7 separate regions of the Homo sapiens genome follow, and all the other regions are linked to region 3. Evidence: promoter capture Hi-C in 16 types of primary human blood cells and fetal thymus (Javierre and others, 2016). All regions are on one chromosome and are shown on one strand. Each heading gives the region's core, a stretch centred on a gene start or on the middle of the fragment in contact. The rest is flanking DNA. Distances are from core to core; before and after follow the strand shown. Region 1 has its middle 3.9 kb from the start of RYK. Region 2 overlaps RAB6B (RAB6B, member RAS oncogene family). Region 3 holds the start of ACAD11 (acyl-CoA dehydrogenase family member 11). Region 4 overlaps ATP2C1 (ATPase secretory pathway Ca2+ transporting 1). Region 5 overlaps ANAPC13 (anaphase promoting complex subunit 13). Region 6 overlaps LOC105374116 (a long non-coding RNA gene). Region 7 overlaps MRPL3 (mitochondrial ribosomal protein L3).

Region 1 (2,700 bases), core at 102-2,601, 1.6 Mb before region 3:
TTATGACAAGTGAAGATGCCCTATAATACTGTGACTTCTCATAGGATCACTTGCCTATTTTAGTTTCAGTTACTGTAGCTAATGCCATTTGTCAATTGTTTAAAGTGCTATGAAAAATGTAATTTTTAAAATGAAATGCTGAACAACCTGGAACTAATATCTAGATCAGCACTGCCCAATAGAAATGTCAGGCCATAAACATAATTTTCTAGTAAAGTCAAAAAAGGTAAAAGAAACATATGAAATACATTTTAATAATATATTTTAACACAATATATCTAAAATATTACCACTCTAACATTCAACCAATATAAAAATTATCAATGAAATATTTTACATTCTTTTTTTTTTTAATACCAAGTCTTCAATATCTGGCATGTACTTTGCACTTACAGCACATCTCAATTCCTACCAGCCACATTTGAAGTACTTTATAGCCACATGTGGCTAGTGCCTACTATACTGGCCAGTGTAGAACTACATGATCTCAATGTGAAAGGTATGTGAAGAAAGAGGGAAGTGAAAGCAGGCTGAAATTCCTGTTTTGTTTAAAGTTAGATATGGCCACTAAGGAACATTCAGTAAATGTAATAACTAGTGTTTGGTACAAATGGTTAACCATATGGAAAAAATAAAATTGTATCATGTGCCATACATAAACATAAATTCCAGATAGATTAAGGAGCTATTTTTTAAGAGAAAAAAGTACAAAATACAAAAAGTATTAATTGGGGGACCTTTGAAAGACACAAAATGCGGAAGCCATAAAGGAAAAGATTGTCAGATTTATCTAAAATAGAAATCCAAAATTTAAGTTAAGTAAAGAACATCATAAGAAAAGTTAAATGACAAGGGATACAGTAAAAGAAAACATCCATAAATCAATAAGAAGACAAATAAGCTAACTAAAAAATAGAATATGTGGGCAGATATTTCAAAGAGTAATTTGAATATGCAATAAGTATATGAGATACTTAACCGCACTAGTGATGAGGGCAATGCAGATTAAACAACAATAAGCTATTTTTCTTTCACTAGACTGTCAACAGCAAAATGAAAAACATTGGCCTATTACCTTGTGTCTCTCATTTATGCCACATTTGGAAATGTATATTTGTAAAATCTTTTGGAAGGCAATTCAGCAGAATCTATCAAAATTAAAACATAACTCCTTTGGACTTGAAGATTCCATTTCAGAGAATCTGTTCTTCTAAATATTTATACATATGCACAAAGATGTATGTGCAAGGATTTGATGTGTATTACCAGAACTGGTAAAATCCATCAGTTCATCCCAACCAAAAGAACACCACAGGGATGCCTCTGTATGCCCTGTCATGAGAACATCCTCGAGATCTCAACTTACTTAGATCAGTCAAAAAAGCAAATCCTGTAGATCACAACTTTTTGTTGTGTTGTCCATTTCTATAAGGCTGAAAAAGAGCACACACATACAATTGTGTGTTTAAACCCATATATGTGTGAGTAACTGCCTAGAGAAAGGGCTCTCAGAACATACATCAAACTGGGCAGTGGGTAAGAGAGACGAGGGTGTGTGTGGAGGGACATATTTATATTTTATTTCACATACTTCTGTGCTGCTTGACTCTTTTACAGTGCAAATGGTTTAATATATTACTTGTGGAAGGAGAAGGTTTATAGAGAGAGCCACATTCCCAACTGCTCCTGGCAAAAGACGAGGCTGATTTCAGGACTTGGAGCCACCCCTTCTCCAACCACCCACCCCCACCCAGCTGAGTGGTTGGGTCAGGTCCATGTTGCTGAGTTGTCTCTGGGTGTCTGTCCTTGCGGGCACCAGGTATTCTCAGCCCACACCAGAGGTCAAACATGGAACACCCATCATCTCTGTGTAGCTTTGACCCCACGCTCCCATCTACCCATCTACCCCATGGCATCTCAAGTCCAAGACTGGCTTTTTAAAGTACAAGTCCTGCTGATGGTATTTCCTGGCCATGCTGAAATATGTCTCCTGGAGGAGGAGAATAAGGTCAACCACTGTGACAAACAAAACCAAGAGTGGAGGGCCAATGTGTGGATTGTGTTGATGACTGTGGCTTTCATTTCCCCAAGGCAAAGAAACCTCAGGAGGCTGTGGTCATGGTTTCTCATTTTCATGCTGAGGCTTTTTGGGAAATTTCAGAAGTTGCCACCCACACCTTGTTAGGGGAGGGAGAGGAAACTTCCTCTTCAGGATGGGCTGGGGATTGTGGGAAGACCTTTGTGTGAGACCAAGTGTCATGCAGAGACAGCAAGAGAGAGACTGGGAATCAATTCCTTCTCCAAGGGTTTAATTAAAGTGTGGGGAAGTTTGCAATCTTATTCAGAAGTTAACATCTGAGCATAGATTTGAAGGAGGTAAGAGATGAAGCCATGTGGGTGTCAGACAGAAGCATTCCAGAGACAGGGAACAGCAGTGCAAAGGCCCTGAGGTAGGATTGTGTCTGGTTTGTTGGAAGAACAGAAAGGAAGCCTTTGTGGTGTGGCAGGAACTAAGGGAGTAGGCGGTGAGCAGAAGATAAGGTCAGAGGGAAGGGAGAAAGGTGGAGAGTGAGAACTACCTTGACATCTTGGAAAGACTTTGCCTTTTATTCTAGGTGAGTTGGGGAACCACTGGTGGTCTGAAAGCCAGAGAGTACATGATCAGGCTGACGTTTAACAGAATGCCTCTGTCTGCTGTGT
Region 2 (2,912 bases), core at 365-2,864, 1.2 Mb before region 3:
TTTCCCTTGGTCAGAGGCCTCCTTGCTATCTATCGCTGCTCTCTTCTTGTCATCCTTAAACATTCAGTCATGTTCCCAGGTCTGAGGGGAGCAATGGCCAGACCAGTTTCAGTATCTCTGGCAACAGAAACAAGGATTGAAATGGTGGTAGTTAAGAGTGCAGACACATCTGGGGTGCAACGTCTGCATCATCCTGGTGGCTAGCCAGTGCGGGGAGGCCCTGCCCTGGGATACCAGTTGTGACAATAAAGGGATGGCCCTCCTGGCTTCAGCATCCTGCAGGTAGAGCAGCCTCATTCCTTCACAAGATGGAAGGCAGGTGAGGATGTCAGGATGAGATGGGACCAGGTAGCCGAGGACAGTGAGGCATGTCTGAGCCACTTGAGGGGCAGCTGAACAGAAGGATGTCTGTGTGCATCAACCGAGCAGATTGTGCGCACACTCGTTTCCGAACTGCCTCTCCCCAAAGAATGTGAGGCATTGTCACCTTGTTACAGCTATGTGAAGCAGAGCTGTCACAACTTTTCCTGTCTACAGGCAGGAAAACCAGGATGGAGAAGGGCAACTTGCTTATTAAGATCACCCAGCAAGTTAGGAGTGATCAGAACCAGTGAAGTTTCCATTTTTCATCCATTGCTGCCCTGTGTGTGAACAAATGTGACTCCATATTTATTACACAGCAAGGACTGCTGTGTGTGGGTGTGTTCCTCAGACCATCTCTACTCTTTTTGGTTAGGACACTAGGTTCTTCCCAGCATATGAGTGAGAATATTGGTGGTATTTTGGGCTCCTCTACTGCACAAGGGCCAGTCCCCAAGTCTACTCTGATTGATTGTCATGGGCACCCACACAGATCAGGACACCCTTTGAATTTTTGTTTGACATGAACTATTTAGGTGTTCCAAAACCTTGGGATCTCAATGTGCAAACTCCTTGGACTCCAGACCCCTGTCTGGTTGGCACTCCCAGCAGTGTGTGGTTTCATCAGGAAATCCTTGCAGCAGGGGTTTAGATGGTTCCTTCAGGAGGTGGGAAGCCTCCATAGCATTGAAGGCCAGCCTGCATCTCGCGGTGTGTGTCCACTTCTCCCCTCACTTTCCCCTCACCCATCCCTTTAAAGTGATTGGCTGTGAGGAGCACAGAGGGTGGCAATTCCATCTGTTATGGGCTCAGAAGACATAGCCGCCATGTTGATTTCACATTAAACTGTGTAAAATGTGGAAAAGACTCAGCATGTTGGTCAAACAATAAACTGTCCTAATTCTCAAAACAAAGCTTCTTGTCTGTGTTTAAGTGGTGCAGTCATAAATGGGGGGGTTCAAAAACAGTTCCTGAAGTGTGTGCTCCACAGAGTCCCTTTTGTCATGCCTGGGTGGTATGTCCACTACCTAAAGCCCTTTGCTGCTTTGCTTCTTCCTCCTACTGGTGGAGTTGGGCTGTCCACCAACTCCGAAGGGGTAAAGATGGGACACACTCATGAGAGTAAATCCACACGCATTCCCCTAATCTCCATTCTGCTGAAAGGCTGATGGGAAGGGAGCCTCCAGGCAGAACTGAGTCAGGGGTACGATATATTCCTTCATCCCCACTCTGCTTGCCATGGCTAGGGGATTAGGAAGGGGGGAGAGGGTACAGGGACTGGATCTCTCATGCTTCTGGTGATTTTCAGAAAGCCATTTAAAGGCAAGAACTTAAGGTGAACTATAATGACCTTTGACAACATCTAGCTGCCATATTCCATCCCCAGCCCCACACCACACCAGTTAGGAACATCCCTGAGTGGCCCCTCCAGGTCTCAGTTATCTCCAGACTAAAAGATGCTCAGAAAGCCAGCACAGTCCTGGGACCAATCCAAAGAGGAACAAAGGCCAAGATTAGGTAAATTGCCCTTGCCCGGGAATCTCACTCTTCTTCAAGTCCAACTTCACTAATTACCTTTCCTTTTAAAGCTTATAAAGGTTCCAGAACACCCTCCAATCTGCTGCCACCTCAAGGAAGCCATCTTTGATTAGAAGAGACATTGAGGCCAGGAGTTTGAGAACAGACTGGCCAACATGGTGAAACCTCATCTCTACTAAAAATTAGCCAGGAGTGGTCCCACAGGCCTGTAATCCCAGCTACTTGGGGAGGCTAAGGCAGAAGAATCACTTGAACCCGGGAGGCAGAGGTTGCAGTGAGCCGAGACGGCACCACTGCCACTCCAGCCTGGGCGACAGAGTGAGACTCTGTCTCGACAAAACAAAAAAACCCTTGAAACAATATATTCAAGTCAACAGAACATGGCCATGTGCCTCACACATCAGCATCATGGGAACACTGGCACTTCAGAGGCCAGTGGAAAAGTGGCAGTCCCGTTGGGGCTGCATGGCTGGCAGCTGACCACAAGCCCACACAGCGCTTAGGAGTCAAGTGCAGCAGTGATGGAGCTCACACTACTGAGAGAGCAGGGAAACCACACTGAAAGGGCACGTTTCTTAACCTCAGAATGGGGCTACTAGCCTCTAAAGCAGGAATTGCGTTTTGTTTAGTATTTCCATGGTCTGCTGCAAGGCGTGGCCTTTACCCAATGGATAAATGCGTACAAGGCTCTTGTGAGCAGTCAAGTTTCTCGAGGTTTACAGTTGAAGGGAAGTGGGATTGTTTTCCTGCGCATTTAAATGAAGGTAGGTGGGTGATCACCTTTCCTTAAATGTGTGAAGGGATGAGATAAAGAGATAGGCATCTTAATTGCCACTGATGGCCTTCAGGTGAGGACAGGCATGAGCCAACTGAAGCTTTGACAATTGTGCTGAACCCAAAACTTCAAAAACAAGAAAAAACATAGACTGGCTGAAATGATCTAAGTCAACAGAGCATGGCCAGCGCTTCATACAAGGCAGGACCACAGGGGAACACTGACAGCCCAGGAGGCA
Region 3 (2,982 bases), core at 177-2,676:
ATCTGCTGAATTGATAAGCTTTGTTAGGAAAGAAGAAAAGAGAGGCCTGGGCAGTCTTGGTAATGTCGAATGGTTTGAGATGTTAAGGAGCACCCGAATATCTCAGAATAGAGCTAACCCCGCTCTCCCCCGCCCCGACCCCATTTAAGATGCATTGATAAGCCTTTAATGAAACTCAAAGTTTACCTTAGCAGGTTTAATATTTGATCTCATCTTCTGAAAGTTCTTACTATCAGTCTTATACACAGCGAGGCGGACTAATTAAGAGGCAAGGGTGATAGGAAACTGGACACACGTCCTCAGCAGGCACAGGAGCAGCACCATATGGCTGACTCACTGGAGGTTTTTAAAAAAGAGAAAGAATATCTTCCGATCAGTACTAAGATGTGGCCTTGCCCATTTGGGAACAGGATTCGCAGACCAAGAAAAGGGTGGCGGGCGTCCCCATGAGCGGGACGTGGGAAGCGCCTCACTTCTGACCTCACGGAGCCTGACCTCGTCCCCCGCGCCTGCCTCCGACCGGCGACGCAGGTTACCTGTAGGGATTCGAATCCACCACCTCTGAGCTCATCTTCTCGATGCGGACCCGGCCGCCCCCTCCGTCGCCGCTCCTCGGGACCTGCAGACTCCTCTCCTGGGCAAGTTCCCGCTCCAGCTCCTGGACCCGCTGCTGCAGGCGCTCCACAGACTCCGCCATGGCTGGGACTCCGGCCGCCAACGCTCCCAGCCCGGGCCTTCGCCGCCGCCTTCGCCCCACGTTGCTCGGCTGGGCCCGCGAGGGGTACGTGGGGAGGCACCTCGCCGCTGCCTTCCTAGCCCAGAGCCCTGGGGACGTGCACCCAGCGCCTCACAGACAGACACGTCTCCGAGACTCCCACAGGCCTTCCTCGGAGCCGCTTCCGGTGCGTCGCAGACATCGCTCCCCCTCATCAAAAACCTGGCTCTTTCGGCTTCCTTCCTCGCTGGGCCGGCTAAACCCGGCCGCAGCAGCACCGGGGTGATAAGTGTCCAGGGCAGGAGGCCAGCGATGTTGCCTTGCTAACCGGGTATCTAAGAGAAACAGGGTCTTTTTATTCTTAGGCTCGACAGTCTGACGGCCCTTTTTCTGAACGGGACCCTGCAGGTCTTCCGCCTGCTGTTGCATTAAATTTGGGGGTGGAAGAGGCTTCTGCGTTGTTCCTTACCCGCAACGATGACCATGGCTTTGCCTTCTTTAAAATTGAGGCCTCCAACTCTGACGCTGACTGGAGAATTGAAACCCGAACACACATTGGGCTCTTTTGGCACTTGACTAGAGCTAAAACCTCGGGATTCAGCGGGCAAGCGTTGCTCAGCAACGGCGCGTAGGCTGTGTGCGGTTGGCTGGAGCCAGACCCCACCCCGGCCTCGGCCCATGCTCTAGAGGGGACGTTGCCCCAATCCTGAAGGACTTCGGCACTCGAGACCTGTGGATGCCGCGTTGCTGTGGCCTGCGGGGGTGATCATGAAGCCAGGTGCTACTGGCGAGTCCGATTTGGCCGAAGTGCTGCCCCAGCACAAGTTCGACAGCAAGTCCCTGGAGGCCTACCTAAACCAGCACTTGTCTGGCTTTGGGGCCGAACGTGAGGCTACGCTGACCATTGCCCAGTACAGGTATGGATGTCAGCCTTTGCCTCCAGCGGAAAAAAATTTGTACATTGAGTTTTCCTTCCTTTGGCCCTGGGTGGTTTCCTAAGTTTCTCCCACCCTGATTGCTTTTCCTGCAGTCAGTGGACGCACCCTACAGGCATGAGCTGCTATTGCCGGCCCTCCGAATTCGATGCTGGGGGCTTCCCAATTGGAGGGCGGTAATGGAAGCGCAATAACGTTCACCATTCTACTATCCAAAGGAATCTTTGTTAAAGGATGGATTTATGTCCCTTGAGGATTCACCAAGGCAATTAAGGCTACAAATTCTGAGAAATAGATGCCTTCTTTTGTGATACAGCCATTAGATCTTTTTCTGAGAAGCTGGTGTAATTCCGTTTGATTGGCCGTATTCCGGGAGGCTGAGTTAATGACACCAGATGGAGGATCCGAATTCGAGTACTAGCTTTTCCACTTAGGAGGTCACAGCACCACTTTGGGCCTCAGGTTTTTTGAAGTGAGGTAATGGAACTGAGTGAGAGGATCCTGAGAGTAGCGTTCCCCACCGGGAATCTGGCTTTAGTCTGATGTTTTACAATAGATAATACATTCTTAAAACTTTATTCTAAAAATAACATTGTTACTAATACAGGGCTACAGAAAGAGTCCTATCATTCAGAAAACTGGATCTGTCACTTGCTGTCTGGGAGTTTAAATATGTTACATAAACACTCTGAGAACTAGTTTCCTAAGTTGTAATACCTATTTTGATTAGTCTTATTAATGAAATGAAATACCGTAATATAGGTGAAAGGGCGTAAAAATTGCAACAACATAGTGTGCTAGTGGTATTTTATCACTAGCATTTATATTCTTTGACTACTGATTTTGGTGAAAATGAAAATAATAATAAATGAGATGGATCAGGGAACATTTTAGGGTGTAGAATTTAAAGGTCCCATGTCCCAATAGATATTGGAAGATGAAGGGAAAGGTGGAATAAAGAATAGCTGAGATTTCTAGGCTAGAAGCCTTGTGTTGTAACAAACTGAAACAGATCAAAGTTCAAATTTCAACTATTTCAATTGCTGTGGAATTTGGACAAGTTACCCTTTGAACATCTAGTCCTGCTTTGGCAAAAAGGAGATAGTAACGTTCATATTGTAGGAGTGTTGAAGAGGTACATAACTGAAAGATACTTAATTCTGAACCAAGCTGAATGTTAAACCATAACCGTGTTCAAAAAATGAAATTAGTTGTAAATTAGTTGTGGTATAAAAATTGCTTCCAGAAATGTTGTATAAGCTTGGTTTAATAAATATATATGGAACTCTGGATCCCACAGAGAACACACATTCATTTCTAGGACACATGAAA
Region 4 (2,815 bases), core at 220-2,719, 1.8 Mb after region 3:
TATATAATACATATAGCATACAAAGTATGTGTTAATTGACTGTTTATGTTATCAGTGAGGCTTCCAGGCAACAGTAGAGACTATTAGTAGTTTAGTTTTCAGAGAGTTAAAAGTTACATGCAGATTTTCAACTGCATGGTGGGTCAGCACCCCAACCCCCACATTGTTCAAGGGTCAACTGTATTAACAAATGCATATAAGTAGCAGTCATATACATCCAAGAGGAAATTATCAATTTAGCCTTTTTTTTGAGAGATCCTTTCTTTCATGAAATGATGGCATTAACCTCAGGATGCACCCTTTACTGCCTTTTACCAACATTTGTCTACATGAAAAGCATAAAGATAACCTTGTCACAACTGATGCCTGAAACCATTATTAAAAAGAATTTGTTTCAACAAAGTAAATGTGAGGGGACCTCTTGAACTGATCCTTAAGATATTTTAAGATGCTACATGTAACAACGGTGTAATTTAAAATTCATGCTAACTTTACCATCAAGCCACAGTGTTCCTGGCACCTTTAAAACAAAATTTAACCTTGCAAAACAGATCATGGCTAACTAAGATCTCCAAAATCAGTCCTGGGCCCCTAGGGGTGTGTTCCCTAGGAAACTATTTTGTTTCATAATGCTTTGCGTTAACAGACCTGAATTCTGCTGACTTTAAATGAATGACAAAAATATGAAGACAAATCAAGTATTTGGAATCCAACTGTCAGAAGGTTATTGCATACAAGTACTCTCTACAGCATCCTCTGGCTTAAATTACTACAGTTTACAAAATGTCATATATATAATCTCTTTTAGTTTCAACTCTTTTTCAGAGTACTAATTAAGACTATCATTTTATGGACAAAACTGCAAACAACATAAACTATATTTCCCACACCCAAAGATATATTTTTATAACCTGGTTTCCTATTTTCAGTTAAAGGAATAAAATTAAGGTGGCTTCTCATCCCTTTTTCCCTATAGCTTCTCCAACTATAGTAATGCAATTTTTTCTTGAGACATTCCTAGCTGATTAACAATTTGAAATTGAATTAAGAAACTGCTTTTAAAAGTAAAGTGTAAATACAACCATTTTCAAACAAAAAAGATTGGGGCATTGTTCTCTACACCTATTAGCTCTGTCTATAATCTTAAATTAACCATGTCCTGAAATCCTGAAGACTATTACATTTCTATCCACTAGTCAAACATTTAAGGCTATATTAAAGTTTCATGTGTATTAAAGTCACACTGAATTTTCTATGGGAAAGGCCAAATTTATTCCAAAAAATAAATCCATTACTAGAAAGGAAAACCTATGTGCAAGCTTCTCCAGCTAGACATATCTTTTCTAGTAAGCTATCACTTTAAACATGCAATTAACTTTTAAAAATCAGGTAAGAGCTGTTTACTTGTGCATCTCAAGATGCCTAAGCGGGATCTGTTTAGATTTGTGATAAACATGTAAAAACAAATTCCAAAGGATCTGGATAAAATCCTAACTCACGACTGAATGTTAAGTAGTCCAAAAATTCCAGGAAATTAACATTTTAAACGTTCCTAGTGACAAGCAGAAAGTGTTCATGAAACATCCTGGAGTCTACAGCTAAAAATTGGTCAAGCTTTGCTGAGAAAGTTTAAATGGGCCCTAGGAAAAAAGTCCAGAAGAATCTAAACCGAAGTGCCAAAGAAAATACCACCATTGCTGAAGGAACCAACACATGGATGAAACCATTTCCTCCCCACACCACTGTAAGCTACCTAAGAAACCTTCATGCTGATGCTCTAGGGAAACACTATCAATTCTACACTGTTCACACCCACAAATGTAACTACCTGCATACCTACTGGAGGATACTCTTACTAGGGAACAGCAGCATCACTCAATTCATCCAAGTTAACTGTATGTCAAACATTGCTCTGGCGGCTTCATTTATTACTCACATCAACTTTGCAAGAGGGCATTATCTCATTTACAGATGAGATAACTTAGAGGCTGAGAAAGCTTAGAAGCCTAGTAACTTGTCAGATTTTTCAGGAGAGGAAAACATTACTTGTCGGGCTTCAAATCCAAACCTGTCTCTTTCTGTACTGGACCCTGGCTTCTTGGTAGAGCCCTAACTTTTTCTGTAGGCTTAAAAGCACTAATGCCATAGAAAATTCCTTACCTAACTCCACTTATCCCTCAACTAACAATGACAACTTCATTTTGAGCATTTGGCTACTACTGTTCCCCCTTCCAACATTTAACTGTCATGACAATATTAATGCCAGGTGGCCTATTAGTATGTATCAAACATTCAGCTAGGCAATTTATAATTAACATTTACCGAGCACTTACTATGTGCCAGATACTGTTTGAATGTTTACAACAACCTCATAAGGTAGGTTCTATCATTATCTTTATTTTATGAAGAAACGGAAGCACAGAAAACTTTAATATGCACAAAGCCAAATGGTAAGCGACGAATCCAGCATTCAAATCAGTCTGCATGGTTCCACCACAACTCAAGCTCTTAAACGTTATCATTCCTACCTCACAAGAGAATTTATACAGGGTTTCTCATTTAATCCTCTCAATTCTGTGAGTTAAAGATTATCAATCCCAATTTATAGATGAAGAAATACAGGCTCAGAAAGGTGACGTAATTTACTTAAAATCACACAGCTTTAAGTGGTTCAAGACAAGTTAGTCAAGACTTGAATCCATTTTTGTTTCACACCTCCAAATTGTTAATACTACACTATATCAAAGAAGGATGAAAACTACAAAAAGGCAAGTGAACAATAAAAAGGCACAGGTATCAATCTATGTAGTTTAAT
Region 5 (2,700 bases), core at 66-2,565, 1.8 Mb before region 3:
ATGGAAGATAAACTAGTGTGGCAAAGAAATCAAAGCTGTGGAATTCTCTAACTCTAGAAGCTTCTGGAGAGCATCCAGTTGTATGTTTTATTTGAAGAAAAATGTGGTTCAGGGAGCTAACATGGCCAGGTCAGTTAGGAGTCATGCCAGGACTAGAGCCCCGATTTTCTGAGCCATGTTCTGTCCACCACACGAAAACCAGAGAAACCAAATAATGAGAGTTTAATGCGCAAGATGGGGAAGAACAAGAAGCAGCAGCATATGAGCTCTGTTTCTTACTTCCCTGCCTGTGGCTCATCAGTCTTTCAGCATTTTTAGAAACTTACATTCTTGGAGCATACACCTATCTTAGGTTCCCTGGAAAATATTCAGAAGATACCTGGGTATTCTTTTGCGTTTAGGCCAGTGGCCTTCTGGAATACTCTTTTCTTCCCCATCTTTGGAAAACTCTGCTGCAGGGAGTTTGTTAAACCTCATGTAATAAGTGATCCAAAAGTTTTGCTTATATAAATGTTTGTTTAAAATCCTATTTATGTCATAGAGGCCTAAAAAAGGGAAAACAGGACTGTTTTTCTTTAAAGCATGCCAGCTGCCCTGAGAAGAGTAGTTAGTATTGAATAAAATATAATTTATAGTTAGAATATCTGCTGTTGCTGTTTGCAAAGAAATAAAATAGTTCATCTGTATTTTCATTTACGAATAAGAGATAGTAATATGTTCAATGAATAATATACATATCAAATAAGTCATAGCTTAGTTCAAGCTTAGGAAAATAGTCAAAAGAGAGAGCATAATAAGAATTATAGATGTCATTTATTGAATACCAGTTTTATGCCATGGACTGAGGTTGGAAATATACATTATCTCTAATTCTTAAACAACCCTGTGAGGGAGGTGCTGTTATTCCCATTTTATAGGAAAAGAATAGGATCAGAAAGGGCAACTTGCCCAAAGTCTGGTAGCAGGTAAGTAGGGCTTCATATAACATATACCTAGGTCTGTGAAGTTCCAAATCCTGTCTTGTGAACTTCTGTTCATTCATTCATTTGACAAGCATTTTTTGAAGCCTACTGTGTGCCATAAGACTATGTGAACATAAGATACAGTTCCTCCTCCTGAGGGGTCTAGAAAGGCAACACTTATAGATAAGTAATTGTGATAATAAATATTCTAGGTGGGGGCATAAACAGCCACATCATATACGAAGTGGCTGATTGCCTGGTGGGCATCAGAAAGGCTTCTGAGAGAATGTCATGTTTAAGCTGGGTCATAAGGAAGGACCAGAAGTTTAGTGGAGGTAGACAAGGGTATTGCAGCAGAGGGGACAGATGTGTAAAGGCCCAGAGTTTTGAAAGGCTTTGGGACATGGTGAGTCATTCACTGTGGATGAAGAATACATTTGTCACATAAGTAGGCTGAAAAGTTGGGCTTGGATCAGATTGAGAGTGGTATTTGATATCACACTTAGACCTCATCCTCAGGAGATCCAGGAATGAATGGTCTTAAAAGCAAGACTGCTATGCTCAGATTTGGCTTTTGGAAAATCAGTTTAGCCAGCATTGTTAGAGATGGTGTGACATGGAGATAGGGGCAAGTGAGACCAATTGGCAAGCTGTTGTGGTCTAGGCAAGGGAGGAGGGCCTAAACAAAGTCAAGAAAATAAAGGAGACGTCCATTTCTGGAGAAGTTTATGGCTCAGATTGGAGAACATTTGGGTGGCAGGGGTGGAAGGAGGTTTCCCTGCTGACTTCCAGGCGAAGTTGGCTTGGCCCTGCTGCTAATCCACACCTTTCGCTTGTCTTGCGATTCTAAGGCAATGTGTATGCCAGTTAGGTTTTGCTGCATAACAAGTCACCCCAAAGCTTAGTGACTTAAAAGAGCAACTGTTTATTTCATGATTTTGTAGCTCAGCTGGGAGGGACTTCTAGTCTGCACCAGCTCAGCTGATCCCTGCCAGGCTTGCCTGTGTTGTGCAGTCAGCCAACAGACTCTGGAGGCTGGGTAATCTAGGACTGTCTCACATGTCTGGCAGTTAACAAGCTGTCTGCTGGGTGATGGGGTGACTATGCCATGGTCTCTGGTATCCAGCAGGCTAGCCCAGACTTCTCAATCTCAGGGTTCCAAGAGCAACCTGAGAGGAAACGGCAGAGCTTCTTGGAGCTTAGGCCAAGAACTGGCCCACTGGCATGACAGCTTCATTCTGTTGGCCAAAACAACTCACAGGGCCAGTCCAAATCCAAGATTGGGGAAATCAGTTTCACCTTTTGATAAGAGTAGCTGCAAAGAACTAAGGGCATTTTACAGTACACCATAATGGGTGGCTGGGTTTATGATACTTTTGTTTTTGTTTTCCAGGCATATATGCCATTTTATGTGTTGGCATGTATTGCAAGGGACAGTAGATACCAAATGAAAGACACATTATTTTAGAAAGCATACCACAGATAGGATGAAATTAAGCAACGTTGTCTGCTTCTGAATTAAAGAATTCATTAACCAAGGACCTATTTATTCTTTGTCATCTATAAGTAATTATTAGGACTGAACTTTCTTTTTAAGTTTAAGATAATATATTATTGCGTTACAATAAATGATAGCTCTTCTCAATCTGTTCAAGTATGTTTGAATCTGTCTTGTAGAACAAGATGTATGTGATTCAAATATAGATAAGTAAATATCATTTAATATATATTGAGCATA
Region 6 (2,700 bases), core at 68-2,567, 1.1 Mb before region 3:
GGGCTTGGGGCTGTGGATCCAACGTAAGAGTAGCCAGAATGAAAATTGTCTCTTTTCTATATGTTGAGTTTTAGGTGCTTCTGGGAAATCTAAAAGCTTATGTCAAGCAAGTGATGAGTAAACACAAATAAAGTTCCACAAGTATATACTAGATTTTCATTTGGGAGTCAGGAATAAATAAGTGGTCATTAAAATCATGGAGAACATGAAGAATGAGGAAAGGAACCCACAAAAAAGCCTAAGAAGGAAGAGTCAGTGGCACAGGAGTAAAACAGACATGTCCTATAAGTGGTCAGTAGCATCTTCTGTAGCAGAGAGGCTCCTTTGACAAGGCTTTGAATGAGTCTGAGCTCAAGGGGATAAGCAAGGGATGGGGCAGTGTGGGGATGGAAGCAAGACTATGGTGTATGGGGAAGACAGTGGGGCATGAAGATAGTTTCTAATGTTAATGAGCACTTCCTGGTGCCAAGCATCATTCTAAATACTTTTAATTTTTTTTTTCAGGCAGGGTCTCACTCTGTTGCCCAGGCTGGAGTGCAGTGACAATAGGGCTCACTGTAACCTGGAACTCCTGGGCTCAAGTGATCCTCCTGCTTCAGCCTCCCAAATAGCTGGGACTACAGGCACAAACACCATGCCCAGGTAGTTTTTTTATTTTTATTTTTGTAGAGACACAGTCTCTCTCTGCTGCCTGGGCTGGTCTTGAGCTCCTGGGCTCAAGTGATCCTCCTGCTTCAGCCCCCCAGAGTGGTGGGATTACAGGCACAAGCCACCACGCCCTGCCTAATGTATTAATTTGTTTAATTCTCACACTGACTCATTTTCTAATTTTACAGAGGGGAAACTGAAGCAGGGTTGAGTAACCTCCCCAAGGATATATAGTAATGAGCAGACTTGGGACTTCATCCCAGGCAATTGGGCTTCTATCTACTTAACCGTATGCTTTAACATAGTAGGATTCATTTTCAAGGCATTTTTAATTGATAAAGGTAGGCGATAGGAACTCCAGATCAAGGAAGGACGGTTAAGATGTGAGGCTTAAGTAAGTAAACCAACTACTTTATTTTAAATTACCAATTTCAAAAATATCAGAACTGGCAGCGGTCATGCCACATTCCATTTCTCTTATTTCTTATGGTCCTAACCGCTGCTCTGTATTCACCACCCAAAACACACGCACACACCCCTTGTATAATATAACCACTGATTCCTCTTTAGAAAAATCACTGGATATTACCATTAGACCTCCTGACTGGGGACCAAAGATGCAGGGAAGAAGGAAGAGCCAGACACGGAGAGTTCCAACCGTAACTGTCTTAACTCGCTGAGGATATTTGGTCAGAGCTATGTGAATGAAGAGGGCTGCCGTGGTGGTGAAGTTGGGAAAGGAAGAAAAAAGGTTCAAGAAAAGAGACTTTTTTTCTTCAGTATGTTTCCTGGGCAGAAGAAATGTGCACAGCTCCCACACTCAGTGAGAAGTTAGCACTCCCATTCTCAGGAATGAGCAGGAGGGGTGAGATTAGTTGCTTCCCTGTACTCACCCATCTCCATCAGGAGCTCCGTGGGCACGAATGCAGAGGAAGGACATGCGATACTGACTGCTGCCTGCTGATAAGTTTTTAGTTCTTGATTCCAATAGCAGATGGAAAGTTACAATGAAACCAGTTGTAGTCAGGGAATTTTTCTCTTCTCTTCCATAAACTAAAATGTCCCATTCACCAGACACCTTCTTCCATCCGCTCCCCAAAGCTCCAATGTACAATGGAACATACCTCAGACCTAGGGATACCAATCATGGGATTCCCCTGCTATGGCTTTGTTTAAAAAAACGTTTAGAGGATTTTTAAAAACAGAATTTAACACATGCTTATTATATTAAAAACTCAAGCAATAATGAAAGCCACAAATCACCTCTATTTTTCTACCTATAGTATCTGATAAATATTTAAGACATTCCTCTGTACATATGTACTAATAAGAAGGCTGTATGGATAAGAGCAGTAAATACAAACGAACACGTTATTTTTAAAGAGATTATAGTATGCACCTCTGTATTCCCCATCCCTGAACAGTACTTGGCTCATGGGAGGCACTGGTCAACTGTTGAATGAATGATCCCAGGCCTACTGTGTCCATTGCTGTGCCCCAGGCTCCTGTCTGACATCCTCCTGCTTCACATCCCTGCCTTAGCGGGTTTGAGGACATGTCACCCTAGCCTACCAAATTTAATTTCTAATTTTAGCTTCTCAGAAAGTAGAATCTGCTGGTAAGAATAATTACATCTGAATAGAGGCACCATTTAGGATTTTCTCTAACATCATTCAATATTCTTCGTCAGATACAAGTAGGATCAGTCCCCTATATCCATCAGTCACACTTAGTCCACAGACATCTGGCCAGGCAGCTTGGGCAGCTCCCTCCAGTCCCTTAAAGGATGGAAGGGGAGAAAGGTGAGTCCACTGGAAACACAAGAGGTCCTGACAAAGAGCTCCACTTCAGAGCTGACTCACTCACTTGATTGCACCATATCTAAGCTTATTCAGCTCTGATACTTTGGACAGTCCCACAGCATACATTGTACAATGTAATCATTCATTTTTCAGGTGTAGGCATAGGGAAGGTCTGGCTCTATACCAAAACTGCTGGCTCTTAGCAGGCACCCAGTTTGCACTTATTTAAATGACTTGATCTGGGAAGGAA
Region 7 (2,769 bases), core at 154-2,653, 1.2 Mb after region 3:
GGATTAAATTAGGTTTTTCAGATGTGCTTGGAATATAACAGACACTCAGTAGATTTGGTTATTTTGTTATTGTTTTATGTTTCATTTCACTTTCTTCCTATGGAAAATTGTCTTAACTCTTGACACCAAGAGCATGTGGAAATTAATTTTGTGTATTCTGGAAGGAGCTTTCAGTGTTTGGGAGAAAGCTGTATAAGAATCCAAATCAGATTTTTTTTAATAAAGCATTTTTTTTTAAGTAGAGTACTGAGTTTGTAGTTTAAGTTTGGAAAAGCTGCCCAATGAGTATCCTGTATTGAATAACTAAAACCAGAAAACCTTTCTCAAAATGGTGATGGTTTTCAGTAAACATCTTTAGGTTTACTATAACACATTGCTTATCTCTAAGACAAACTTTTTTTTCATTGTAAACTGTTTATGAAATGAACAAGGCAGAAATTAGGATACAACCCATACTCTCTGACTGTCAAAACTATCAGGTGTTTATCCTACTAACTACTCTATTTTCTGATAGTTAACTTTTATTGAACATTTATTACATGCCACGTGCATAAGCATTACGCTTTTTTCATTTGTTACTTTATATAAACTTTTCAGCCTCTGAGGCTAACGCAGTTAACTAACTCATTCAAAGTCACCCACTGGTAAAAGGTAGAGCGACAGACACCAGAGCCTTACTTAACTGTGTCTTGATATCTACCCACTGGGAGCTCATAAGCTAGTGAGGAAGTTACACAAATAAACCAGCCATCCCAGTACAATATTATAAATCCAAGGAGCACAGAACCGGAGACAGCCAATTCTGCCAGGGAAAATCCCAGGAGGTTTCACAGGGAGAACAGAAAGGAAAATGGGTGTTACAGGCATGCCAGAGAGAATGGCCTCTGCAGAAGCAGAGACAACATGGAAGAGCATGTGTGCTTGGGGAGAGAAGTGTAATGTGGCTGCATTTTAGTGTGCAGGCCTGGGCCAGTGTTGGGAGGGTGGTGAAGCTGCAGCTATCAAGGTAGTGTGTGAGGTTTAGACTTCATCTTACGGACTTTGAGGTGCTTTCTGAATTCTTTAACTAGGTCAGTAACTTGTTCAGATTGTTAAATTAGTTAACTAAAATTTTAAAAATCTGATAGAAGGAAAGAGTTTTTAGGAGATTGTTTTAAGAGATCAGGGGAGAGTTGATAAGAGCCTTTAGAAGCAAGGCAGTTGCATTGAGATTGGAAGGGGCAGGGATTGGAAAGGACTAGGTGGGAGGACACAACTAGGTCAGTGCTGATTGCATACTCTGGGATAGGAACAAGGAAAAGGGAAGCTTTGGAGGAAAGATGTTTGAGATGTTCACAGGAAATCATAGTTCTATAAATGGTGAGAAATACTGATTAGTCAATAAGTGGTGGTGGAAATCACTGAAATCTGTGACATGGTTTATTTTGTTTCGTGTTAGAGAAGTTAGCTATTTTTGAATATTATGGTAGCATACTCCATTTATTTTTCTTTAAAGCTTTGTCATAATATCTGTCCTGCTATTCTTAACAGTTTATTGACTAACAAATTTGGGTTTCATATAACTCCATAGTAATTATAGAGTACAATGAGATATTTATGGGAACTTTTTAAAAAAATCAAGTGTTTGACTTTTTAAAAATTTATTATGTACCAGCCTTCATATGAGTAATTCTTTGGTTTGATAGATGCCACTGTTTTCTACTTGATTGTACTTCTGTGTTTTTGTAATGACTAGCATCATCATCTTCATTTTCATTACAAGTTTTGTAAATTGATGCCTTCATGGCCTGGATATTTGTAAATCAAGCATGCTAGGGTAATCCCTTCTGCCCCAGCCAGGTCTGTGAAGATTGCTTCCTCTGAAATATGAGGTAGTGAGAAAACAAGTGATGTGGGATCAGAAAAGTTGAGTTCTAATCCTGATTTCTACCTTTAGGTCCCCTATACTCACCTTTTGAACATCTATTTTCTTACCCATAAAAACAAGGAATAGTACTTGATGGTCTCTGAATTATCTTCCAGTTCTGAAAGTCTCACATTGGTTCTCTGAATATTTTAATTCTCAAGAAAAAACAAGTTTGGAGAAAAAAAGTACATGGGAGCTCAATTTATTCTATTTTACTTAGTGATAAAGATGTGTTATAATCAAAATTTTATGAAAGTAATACTAATAGTATTACTATAACAGTACTAATAATTAATATTACAGAATGATAGGTATTGCATTTCATAGTCGAGGCTGTTCACACATTTTTTTCTCTTTAGCTTATTCTGATAGCTTTATTCTCTTCAGTGGTTACATAGCACAGCAGGGTGATTTGGATGTTGTGTTCTAATGTTGTGGTGGATTTTGACCCACTTAATTTACGTAAACTTTGAAAACTTCACTTCTCTAGCATAGAAAGTACTGCGAAGGACCTTCTTTCTTCAAGATATAAAATTTCTTCAAGATATAAAATTTCTAAGTCCAGATGACATTTATTACAATAACAAGAAAAAGCTTTGTCTATAAAATGACCTTTCTTCAAAATGAAATGTGAAAATGAAGTTTTAGAATTCTTTGTAAATACATCATTTTTGTTTGAAAACAAAGATTTTTGAAACTAAAAGTATCCAGACTTCCATATTATAGCTCTCAGGAAAAAATGCAAATCGATTGATTATAGAGGATTTTTTAAAAAACGAAGACCTATGAATATAAAATTTCATATATCTAAACATTTGGAAATTAAATCACTTTATAATAGTGTTAGAACTGTTTTCTTTTAA

Evidence for each region. The method cuts DNA at HindIII sites, captures the fragments that hold promoters and counts their contacts. A CHiCAGO score of 5 or more calls a contact.
Region 1: a fragment that was not itself captured here is called in contact with the fragment with the promoter of ACAD11 in region 3 in 2 of 17 cell types (fetal thymus and non-activated CD4 T cells); the score reaches 5.6 in fetal thymus.
Region 2: a fragment that was not itself captured here is called in contact with the fragment with the promoter of ACAD11 in region 3 in 1 of 17 cell types (fetal thymus); the score reaches 5.5 in fetal thymus.
Region 4: a fragment that was not itself captured here is called in contact with the fragment with the promoter of ACAD11 in region 3 in 1 of 17 cell types (total B cells); the score reaches 6.0 in total B cells.
Region 5: a contact is called between a fragment that was not itself captured here and the fragment with the promoter of ACAD11 in region 3, in 1 of 17 cell types (total B cells). The highest score is 6.4, in total B cells.
Region 6: a fragment that was not itself captured here is called in contact with the fragment with the promoter of ACAD11 in region 3 in 7 of 17 cell types (naive B cells, fetal thymus, naive CD8 T cells and 4 more); the score reaches 11.0 in naive B cells.
Region 7: a contact is called between a fragment that was not itself captured here and the fragment with the promoter of ACAD11 in region 3, in 1 of 17 cell types (total CD8 T cells). The highest score is 5.7, in total CD8 T cells.

The regions. Positions count from the first base shown.
Region 1 is chr3:134,253,413-134,256,112 of GRCh38, reverse strand. No RefSeq gene overlaps it. Among named protein-coding and RNA genes, the nearest start is that of RYK, 3.9 kb to the right of the region's middle. The HindIII fragment of the contact is 4,822 bases long and covers 1-2,700 here.
Region 2 is chr3:133,822,597-133,825,508 of GRCh38, reverse strand. It overlaps RAB6B (RAB6B, member RAS oncogene family), which reads left to right. Exons shown (of 8, transcript NM_016577.4): 8 at 1-1,274. It also overlaps a transcript of SRPRB not described here. Among named protein-coding and RNA genes, the nearest start is that of SRPRB, 18 kb to the right of the region's middle. The HindIII fragment of the contact is 674 bases long and covers 1,278-1,951 here.
Region 3 is chr3:132,658,253-132,661,234 of GRCh38, reverse strand. ACAD11 (acyl-CoA dehydrogenase family member 11) reads left to right here and starts at 1,426. Exons shown (of 20, transcript NM_032169.5): 1 at 1,426-1,632. The coding sequence starts at 1,484. UBA5 (ubiquitin like modifier activating enzyme 5) reads right to left here and starts at 906. Exons shown (of 12, transcript NM_024818.6): 1 at 537-906. The coding sequence starts at 697. The region is part of intron 26 of NPHP3-ACAD11 (NPHP3-ACAD11 readthrough (NMD candidate)); the gene reads left to right. RefSeq lists enhancers at 311-590, 961-1,050, 586-1,124. The HindIII fragment of the contact is 2,892 bases long and covers 21-2,912 here.
Region 4 is chr3:130,896,552-130,899,366 of GRCh38, reverse strand. The region is part of intron 2 of ATP2C1 (ATPase secretory pathway Ca2+ transporting 1); the gene reads right to left. Among named protein-coding and RNA genes, the nearest start is that of ATP2C1, 3.9 kb to the right of the region's middle. The HindIII fragment of the contact is 295 bases long and covers 1,322-1,616 here.
Region 5 is chr3:134,480,034-134,482,733 of GRCh38, reverse strand. All of the region lies in intron 2 of ANAPC13 (anaphase promoting complex subunit 13), which reads left to right. Among named protein-coding and RNA genes, the nearest start is that of ANAPC13, 4.6 kb to the left of the region's middle. The HindIII fragment of the contact is 1,099 bases long and covers 766-1,864 here.
Region 6 is chr3:133,800,207-133,802,906 of GRCh38, reverse strand. All of the region lies in intron 1 of LOC105374116 (a long non-coding RNA gene), which reads left to right. It also overlaps a transcript of SRPRB not described here. Among named protein-coding and RNA genes, the nearest start is that of SRPRB, 4.3 kb to the left of the region's middle. The HindIII fragment of the contact is 2,438 bases long and covers 99-2,536 here.
Region 7 is chr3:131,495,112-131,497,880 of GRCh38, reverse strand. The region is part of intron 4 of MRPL3 (mitochondrial ribosomal protein L3); the gene reads left to right. Among named protein-coding and RNA genes, the nearest start is that of MRPL3, 6.5 kb to the left of the region's middle. The HindIII fragment of the contact is 189 bases long and covers 1,309-1,497 here.